Linked DNA regions of Homo sapiens: region 1 is linked to region 2. Evidence: promoter capture Hi-C in 16 types of primary human blood cells and fetal thymus (Javierre and others, 2016). All regions are on one chromosome and are shown on one strand. Each heading gives the region's core, a stretch centred on a gene start or on the middle of the fragment in contact. The rest is flanking DNA. Distances are from core to core; before and after follow the strand shown. Region 1 overlaps MYH14 (myosin heavy chain 14). Region 2 holds the start of KLK4 (kallikrein related peptidase 4).

Evidence for each region. Contacts are between HindIII fragments. The CHiCAGO score rates a contact against its expected background, and 5 or more counts as called.
Region 1: a fragment that was not itself captured here is called in contact with the fragment with the promoter of KLK4 in region 2 in 1 of 17 cell types (total B cells); the score reaches 5.4 in total B cells.

The regions. Positions count from the first base shown.
Region 1 is chr19:50,245,741-50,249,163 of GRCh38, forward strand. MYH14 (myosin heavy chain 14) reads left to right here. Exons shown (of 43, transcript NM_001145809.2): 12 at 1,264-1,382; 13 at 3,247-3,399. Among named protein-coding and RNA genes, the nearest start is that of MYH14, 44 kb to the left of the region's middle. The HindIII fragment of the contact is 6,027 bases long and covers 1-3,423 here.
Region 2 is chr19:50,909,866-50,913,312 of GRCh38, forward strand. KLK4 (kallikrein related peptidase 4) reads right to left here and starts at 1,530. Exons shown (of 6, transcript NM_004917.5): 1 at 1,474-1,530; 2 at 813-884. The coding sequence starts at 873. The HindIII fragment of the contact is 22,926 bases long and covers 1-3,447 here.

The DNA of each region.
Region 1 (3,423 bases), core at 177-2,676, 660 kb before region 2:
AGCATTACCTGAGGCACCTGGGGGCTCTGTACATAGGCACCCAGCAGGTGTGCCGTGCACACACATTTACTCATTTGTTTTACAAAACTGGAGTCAGACCCTGCAAACTGTTTTGAAACCTGCTTTTTTTTCCCCTGAATGCTTTCGGGATAACTTTTCAGGTTATTCACAAGAAACTCTACTGGGATCCCTTCCCTCCCTCCCTCCCTCCCTCCCTCCCTCCTTCCCTCCCTCCTTCCTTCCTTCTTTTAGATAGAACTGTACTGGGATTCCCTCGCTCCCTCCCTCCCTTCCTCCTGCCCTCCCTCCTTCCTTCTTTTAGATAGAACTCTACTGGGATTCCCCCCCTCCCTCCCTCCCTCCCTTCCTTTCTTCCTTCCTTCCTTCCTTCCCTCCTTCCTTCCTTCCTTCCATCTTTCCTCTTTTAAATGAAGTCTCGCCCAGACTGGAGTGCAGTGGCACCATCTCAGCTCACTGCAACCTCTACCTCCTGGGTTCAAGCGATTCTCCCTGCCTCAGCCTCCCAAGTATCTGGGATTACAGGCACGCACCACCATGTCGGGCTAATTTTTGTATTTTTAGTACAGACGGGGTTTCACCATGTTGGCCAGGTTGGTCTCAAACTCCTGACCTCAGGTGATCCGCCCACCTTGGCCTCCCGAAGGGCCTCCCTGGGATTACGGGCGTGAGCCACCGTGCCCCGCCTCCAGTGTAGCTTTTAGTGACTGCAGAACATTCTTTCAAATGGGCCAGGCACCTGTAATCCCAGCTACTCAGGAGCTGAGGCAGGAGAATCACTTGAACCAGGGAGGCGGAGGTTGTAGTGAGCTGAGATTGCATCACTGCACTCCAGTCTGGGTGATAAGAGCCAAACTCTGTCTCAAACAAAACAAAACAAAACAAACAAAAAAACCATCAGAACATTCTTTCAAATGAATGAAGCCCGACCCATCTAACCAATTCCCGCTTCTTGGGCACTGAGGTTGTTTCCTAGCTTTCTCCGATTATAAACAACACTGCGCTGAACATCCTTGTGGCACGGTCTTTGCTCACATGCAGGGTTATTTTGCCAGTGCTGGTTCCTGGAAAAAAAATAGTTGGGCAGAGAATGTACACACTTTTGGGACTCGTAATGCCTCTCCTGGGAAAGGCGGGGCCCGTCTTCTGCTCCCCCAACAGTGTGGGAAACGGTACCCTCTCCCTTGCTGGGCAGCAAGCACCTCTTCCCAGTGCTGATGGAATCTTGGTGCCTCTCGCCCTCAGCTGCACAGAAGCTCTGCCGCCTCTTGGGACTGGGGGTGACGGATTTCTCCCGAGCCTTGCTCACCCCTCGCATCAAAGTTGGCCGAGACTATGTGCAGAAAGCCCAGACTAAGGAACAGGTAGGCGGGGCTGGCGGTGGGCAGGCACAGAAAGAGCCGCGCACCCCGGCCCTGGGTCTTTAAACAGTGTATGCTGTTTTTCCCACCACTCAACAGACTTTTGCTGAGTGCCCGCTCCGTTACCGATCCTGGTCTAGGTGCCAGGCGTAAAAGCAGTCATCGAAACAAATAACCAGGCCCTCAGGGACCTCAAGTTATAGTAAGGAAATGGATAATAAAAGTTCAACAGGATGTGTCTGGGAGTGGTGGCTCACACCTGTAATCCCAGCACTTTGGGAGGCCAAGGTGGGAGGATTGCTTGAGCCCGGGAGTTTGAGGCTGCAGCGAGCTGTAATTGCGCCACTGCACTCCAGCCTGGGTGACAGACTGAGACTCTGTCTCTAAAAAAATTAAAAAATTTAATAATAATTTAAAAAAACAGGATGTAAATGCAACATGGTATCCTAGAAAAACAAAAAACAAAAACCCAGGATGCTTTTAGATGGTGAGAGCACCTGTGAAGGGGAGGTTTTGTTGGTCAGGAAAGTCCTCTCTAAGGAAGCTCTAAGGATGAAACATTCGAGATGAGACCTAGATGGTTCGAGGCAGACGGAACCGCAAGTGTAAAGGCCCTGGGGGTGGAGCAGGCTTGGGGAGTTGGGAACATTAAGCAGGTCAGTGAGGCCGGGTGTGGGGGCTCATGCCTGTAATCCCAGCTCTTTGGGAGGCTGAGGCGGACAGATTGAGCTCAGGAGTTCAAGATCAGCCTGGGCAACATGGTGAATCTCCGTCTCTACTAAAATACAAAAATTAGCTGGGTATGTGGCACACGCCTGTAGTCCCAGCTACTTGGGAGGCTGAGACACGAGGATCACTTGAACCTAGGAGGCAGAGGTTGCAGTGAGCTGAGAGCACGCCACTGCACTTCAGCCTGGGTGACAGAGCGAGACTCTGTCTCAAAAAAAAAAAAAAAAAGAAAAGAAAAAAAGAAAATTGAAGGAGGTCAGGTCAGTGAGGCTGAAGAGCAAGGGAGAGAGGGTGGGTGAATCCACAGTCAGAAATGTCAGCAAGGGGCAGATCATGCAGGGTCTTAGGGGCCACAGTAAGGAGGTGAGTTTTATTCAAACTACATAGGAGGCCATTGAGGTTTTAAGCCAGGGAGTGACTTGATTCAGTTTGTCTTTCATAGAAAGATCCCCTTGGCTGCTGCATGGAGAATTGGGTTCAGGGATGCAGGTAGAGGCGGGGAGACCTAAGGAGGCTGCATCCAGAGTCTTGGCAATCGTGGGAGCTCACACCATGAGCAGGGAGGGTGGAGTGGAGCGACCACAGGCCAGGGAGGGTTTCAGAATCCAGCTTTTGGGCAGAGGCCTCTGCTGGCCCCAGGCTGGGCAGTGAGGTACCTGGATGAAGACCCCGTGGGGGAGATGAGGAGTCTGGGAGCCACACTGACCCGGGTTCAATCTCAGCTGGGGTACTGTTGTTAGTTCCCATTTTACAGAGGAGAAAACTGAGGCACAGAGAGGTTTATTCACATGCCTGAAATCACACAGCCCCTAAGTGGCAGAGCTGGGATTCAAACCCAAGTTGTCCGGCTCCAGAGTCCACGCTCTTAACCGCTGTGCGGTAGAAACTGCTTTGAGGGGGTGAGGGAAGGATTCAAGGGCTAACACATCCGAGCCCGTCATGTAGTACCTGGTGCGCAGTAGGACTTCAGGAATGTCTGCCTGTTGTTCATGGCATTGTTCTTGATGGTACTTACACTCAAGGAGCTGGGAGGCGACCTTAAGGGGGACGAGCTGGGGGCCCTTCCCCGGTTCACCCCCGACGTCTTTCAGTCTGCTGATGTGCAGGCTGCGCCCTTACCATGAGCCCTGTCCCACAGGCTGACTTCGCGCTGGAGGCCCTGGCCAAGGCCACCTACGAGCGCCTCTTCCGCTGGCTGGTTCTGCGCCTCAACCGGGCCTTGGACCGCAGCCCCCGCCAAGGCGCCTCCTTCCTGGGCATCCTGGACATCGCGGGCTTTGAGATCTTCCAGGTCCACCCTTGTGCTGGGAGGGGG
Region 2 (3,447 bases), core at 280-2,779:
AGTGCTCCTAGGGTTGGGGTTACAGCGCAGGGGCGCCATCAAGGCTTCAAGAGCTGGGTTATGGCTAGAGGCAGTCTCAGAAGGTGGGACCAGGGCTTCTGGGGCGGAGTCAGGGCTCTGGGGTGAGCTCTGGAGGTGAGACTGGTGCCATCGCGGTGCAAAGCCACGGTCAGGAGGGGTTCAACAGAGGAGTCTAGGCTCATAGCAGTAGGATCGGGTCCTTCGGGGTGAATTAAAGCTCAGGGGGTGGAGTTGTTGCTGGGAGCAAGGATCGGGTCACTTGTCTGCGCAGACTGATGCTCAAAGAGTCGGTCCTGCGCCGAGTCACTCCTATCCTCTCCCAGCCTTGCCCACAGTCACACCAAGCCACAAGCCCATGCACACCAAAACACCGTTTTATAGTCCTGTGAGGTGAGTTCCTTGGGGATGGGAGAGGGGGATCTCAGGACTGAAGACCCAGGAAGCAGGCACAGATTCCCAGCAATGGATCACGCCCCAGGAAGCACAATCTCCTGCACCCTCGGCTTCCCCTGTCCCCATATCATCATTACACTGTTGTCACTCCACCAGATATTCAGAGGCACAAACTGTCAGAGTCTCACAGGTACAACCACACACCCAGGCACACTGCCACACACAAATTTACCACGATACAAGGAGTTGCAGGGGCACAGCCATGGGGGACGGATAACACGGTACCGTCTCACAGGCAGCTTTGCAGTCACAAGCAAGAGGACACTGAGTCACACCTGAACATTAACAAACACTGTGCCCCCAAGCACGGACAGACACACACACGCATACTCAGATACCTGCGACACCAAGGATGAGGTACCCCAGGAACCAGCCCCAGGGATTTCCTGCTGTGGCCATCACGTCAGCACCTGGGGATGAGGACTGAGACTTAGCCGTGTCTGGGGATCTTCAGCCCAAGTCTCTCCATCCCTCTCTTTGTCCCTCCCTTTCTTCCCTCTGGGACGTTATTAGGTAGGCAAGAGCCTAGACCATCTACCCCCTCTCCCATCCATGGACCCAGAACCTAGAGAGACAGATTTAGAGACTGAGAGAGAAAAAGAGAGAGAGAGATGGGAAAAGAGAGAGAGAGAGAGAACTAGGTAGAAAGGAAAGTTTAGAGAAAGCATCTAGCCATCTGTGAATGGGGAGAGATGGTGTCTAGCCACCCACAAACAAGCATGGAGGGAAGACACACAGAGAATCAGAGCCGGAGAGACAGAGTGCTTGAGAGATATCCTCAGAGACAGTCTGAGAGTTAGACATGGAGATATAGATTCAGAGAGACAGAGAGACCCCTAACTAGAGACAGTGACTCCTAACTAGAGACAGTGAGAGATCTGTCTAGAGAGATGTGGAGACAGAAGGCACAGAGGCTGAGAATCCAGCGACATGGAGCTGTAGGGAGAGTTGGATCATGAACACTGCAGGCTTTTAGTGGGGGACCACCAGGCCTCTTACCCGGCCACCTCTGGGCTCCTGGATTCCACTGCTGGGCTGAGCTCCAGCCTGCTGCCTCCCGCAGGGGCCTCCTTGGGGCTTATAAGCATCCTCAGCCTGGGCTGGCCTGCCCCCAGGGGATGTGTTCCAGGGGTCAGGTGCTGCAAACTTCCAGCTCAACTCTCTCAGGCTGCCTCAACTCTGACCAGGCAGTGGTTGGGGGCCCAGAAGGGGCTGGCAGCAGGGTCTAGGGACCCAGGGAGGAGACCCCTGCCCAGATCCTAGACTCCACTCTCCTTTTTCTTTCTCTCTCTCTCTCTCATTCTTTCTCTTTTCATGTTCTTATTCTCTCTCATGAGATACCTCTCTCTTGCCTGTATCTCTCATTTTCTCTTTCTCTTCTTCTTTCTTTCTCTCATTCTCTCTCTCATTATTTTTCTCGTGTTTTCTTTCATTTCCTCTCATTCTCTCCTGTTCTCTCTCATGTTCTTTCTCTTTTTAAATTAAATCTCTCTCTCTCTCTCCCCTCCTCCTTCATCCCTCTCTTTCTGTGCTTCTCCAGCAAATTTCCCCAGGTTCGTATCCAGCCTACATCACGAACTATTTTTGGAACCTTGGGCAAGTGACTGCACCCCTGTGAGCCTGTTTTTCCAACTGTAAAACTGGAGTGACCATTATGCCCCATTTCCCAAGTGGATTCAAAGAGGTAATTCAGGGAAAGGCACACAGTGCCAGGCACATTGTAGGCTCTCGGTGAGCGGGAGAACTAAAAAGTCTTCGCTCAGTGAAAAGCAGCTGAGTGCCTACCACACTCCGAGCTCTGCGGCAGGTGCTGGGGCCACAGGAGGAACCAGCAAAGTCCTCGTCACTGGGGATCGCGTCCTACCCGGGGGCACAGACCATAAAGGAAAACTGCAGGGACCAGCATATAAGGTGGTGGTCGGGGAGACTCAGAGAAGGGGAACATTTAAGCTGAGATCCCAGGGAAGAGGAGGAGGAGGGTCGCCGCAGCAGGGGCGGTTGCGGGGTGCAGGGGAGAACTTGGCTCCAGCCAGAGGAGGGCAGGGCGGGTAGGAGGGCAGGGCGGGTAGGAGCGCAGACCGGGAACCGGGCGGGCCTGCAGGAGTTTACGTACCAGGATTAAGGAGCTTGGGTTTTACTTAAGTGCAATGGATTTTAAGCACGAGGATGGAGTGACATAATCTTATTTACTTTTTAAAAACTTCCAGCTTGGAGAGTGATGGTGGGGGCGGGGCGGGGGGCAGTGGCAACAGCCCAGGTGGGAGGTGACGGGGTCAAGGGAGAAGAGAGGTGAATGGACACGGGGTCCCCTCTGCATGTGGAGCCAAGTTACTGCCCGATGGATGGAAAGTGGGGGGCCAGGAGCAGAGGGGCCAAGGATGGCGTGGAGGCTTGGTCTGCTGGCTTGCGCTCTACGGATCTTGTGGAGACGCATAGGTGCGGGAAGGGGGGTGGGGGGTGAGAGGGTGCCGTAGACCGCGGAGGGTGCACGGAGGGGCAGGCCGAGGTCAGGACTGCCGAGAAACAGCGGGGACTCATCAGGGGAGAGGTGGTGTTTACAGCCACGAGGCCGGGTGAGATCATCCAAGGAGTGGGTGGGTGTAGACCGCGGAGCCGGCGCGGGTGAGGGATAGTGCCCGCAGGTGACCGCGACGAGGCAGGAATGTCTCTGTGTCTCTCTGTCTCTCCTGGGTCTCTAACACTCTTTCCTTCTCCTTCCTTACTTCTTTCCCCCACAGCCCACCCCGTGTGTCTGTCTCTCTTTCTCTCTGGCTCTCTTTTCCTCTGCCTCTCTGGTCCCATCTCTGTCTCTCTCCCCCTTGTCTCTGTTTCTCTCACCTGCCAGACTGGAAGCATCCCAAGTGAGACCCTCCCCCAACTCTGTCCTGGGCCCGTGCGCCCCCAGATAACTCTGGGCAGGACGGGACATAGGCTGGGACCACAGAACAGGAAGCCCTGGCAGGTTTCTGTCTC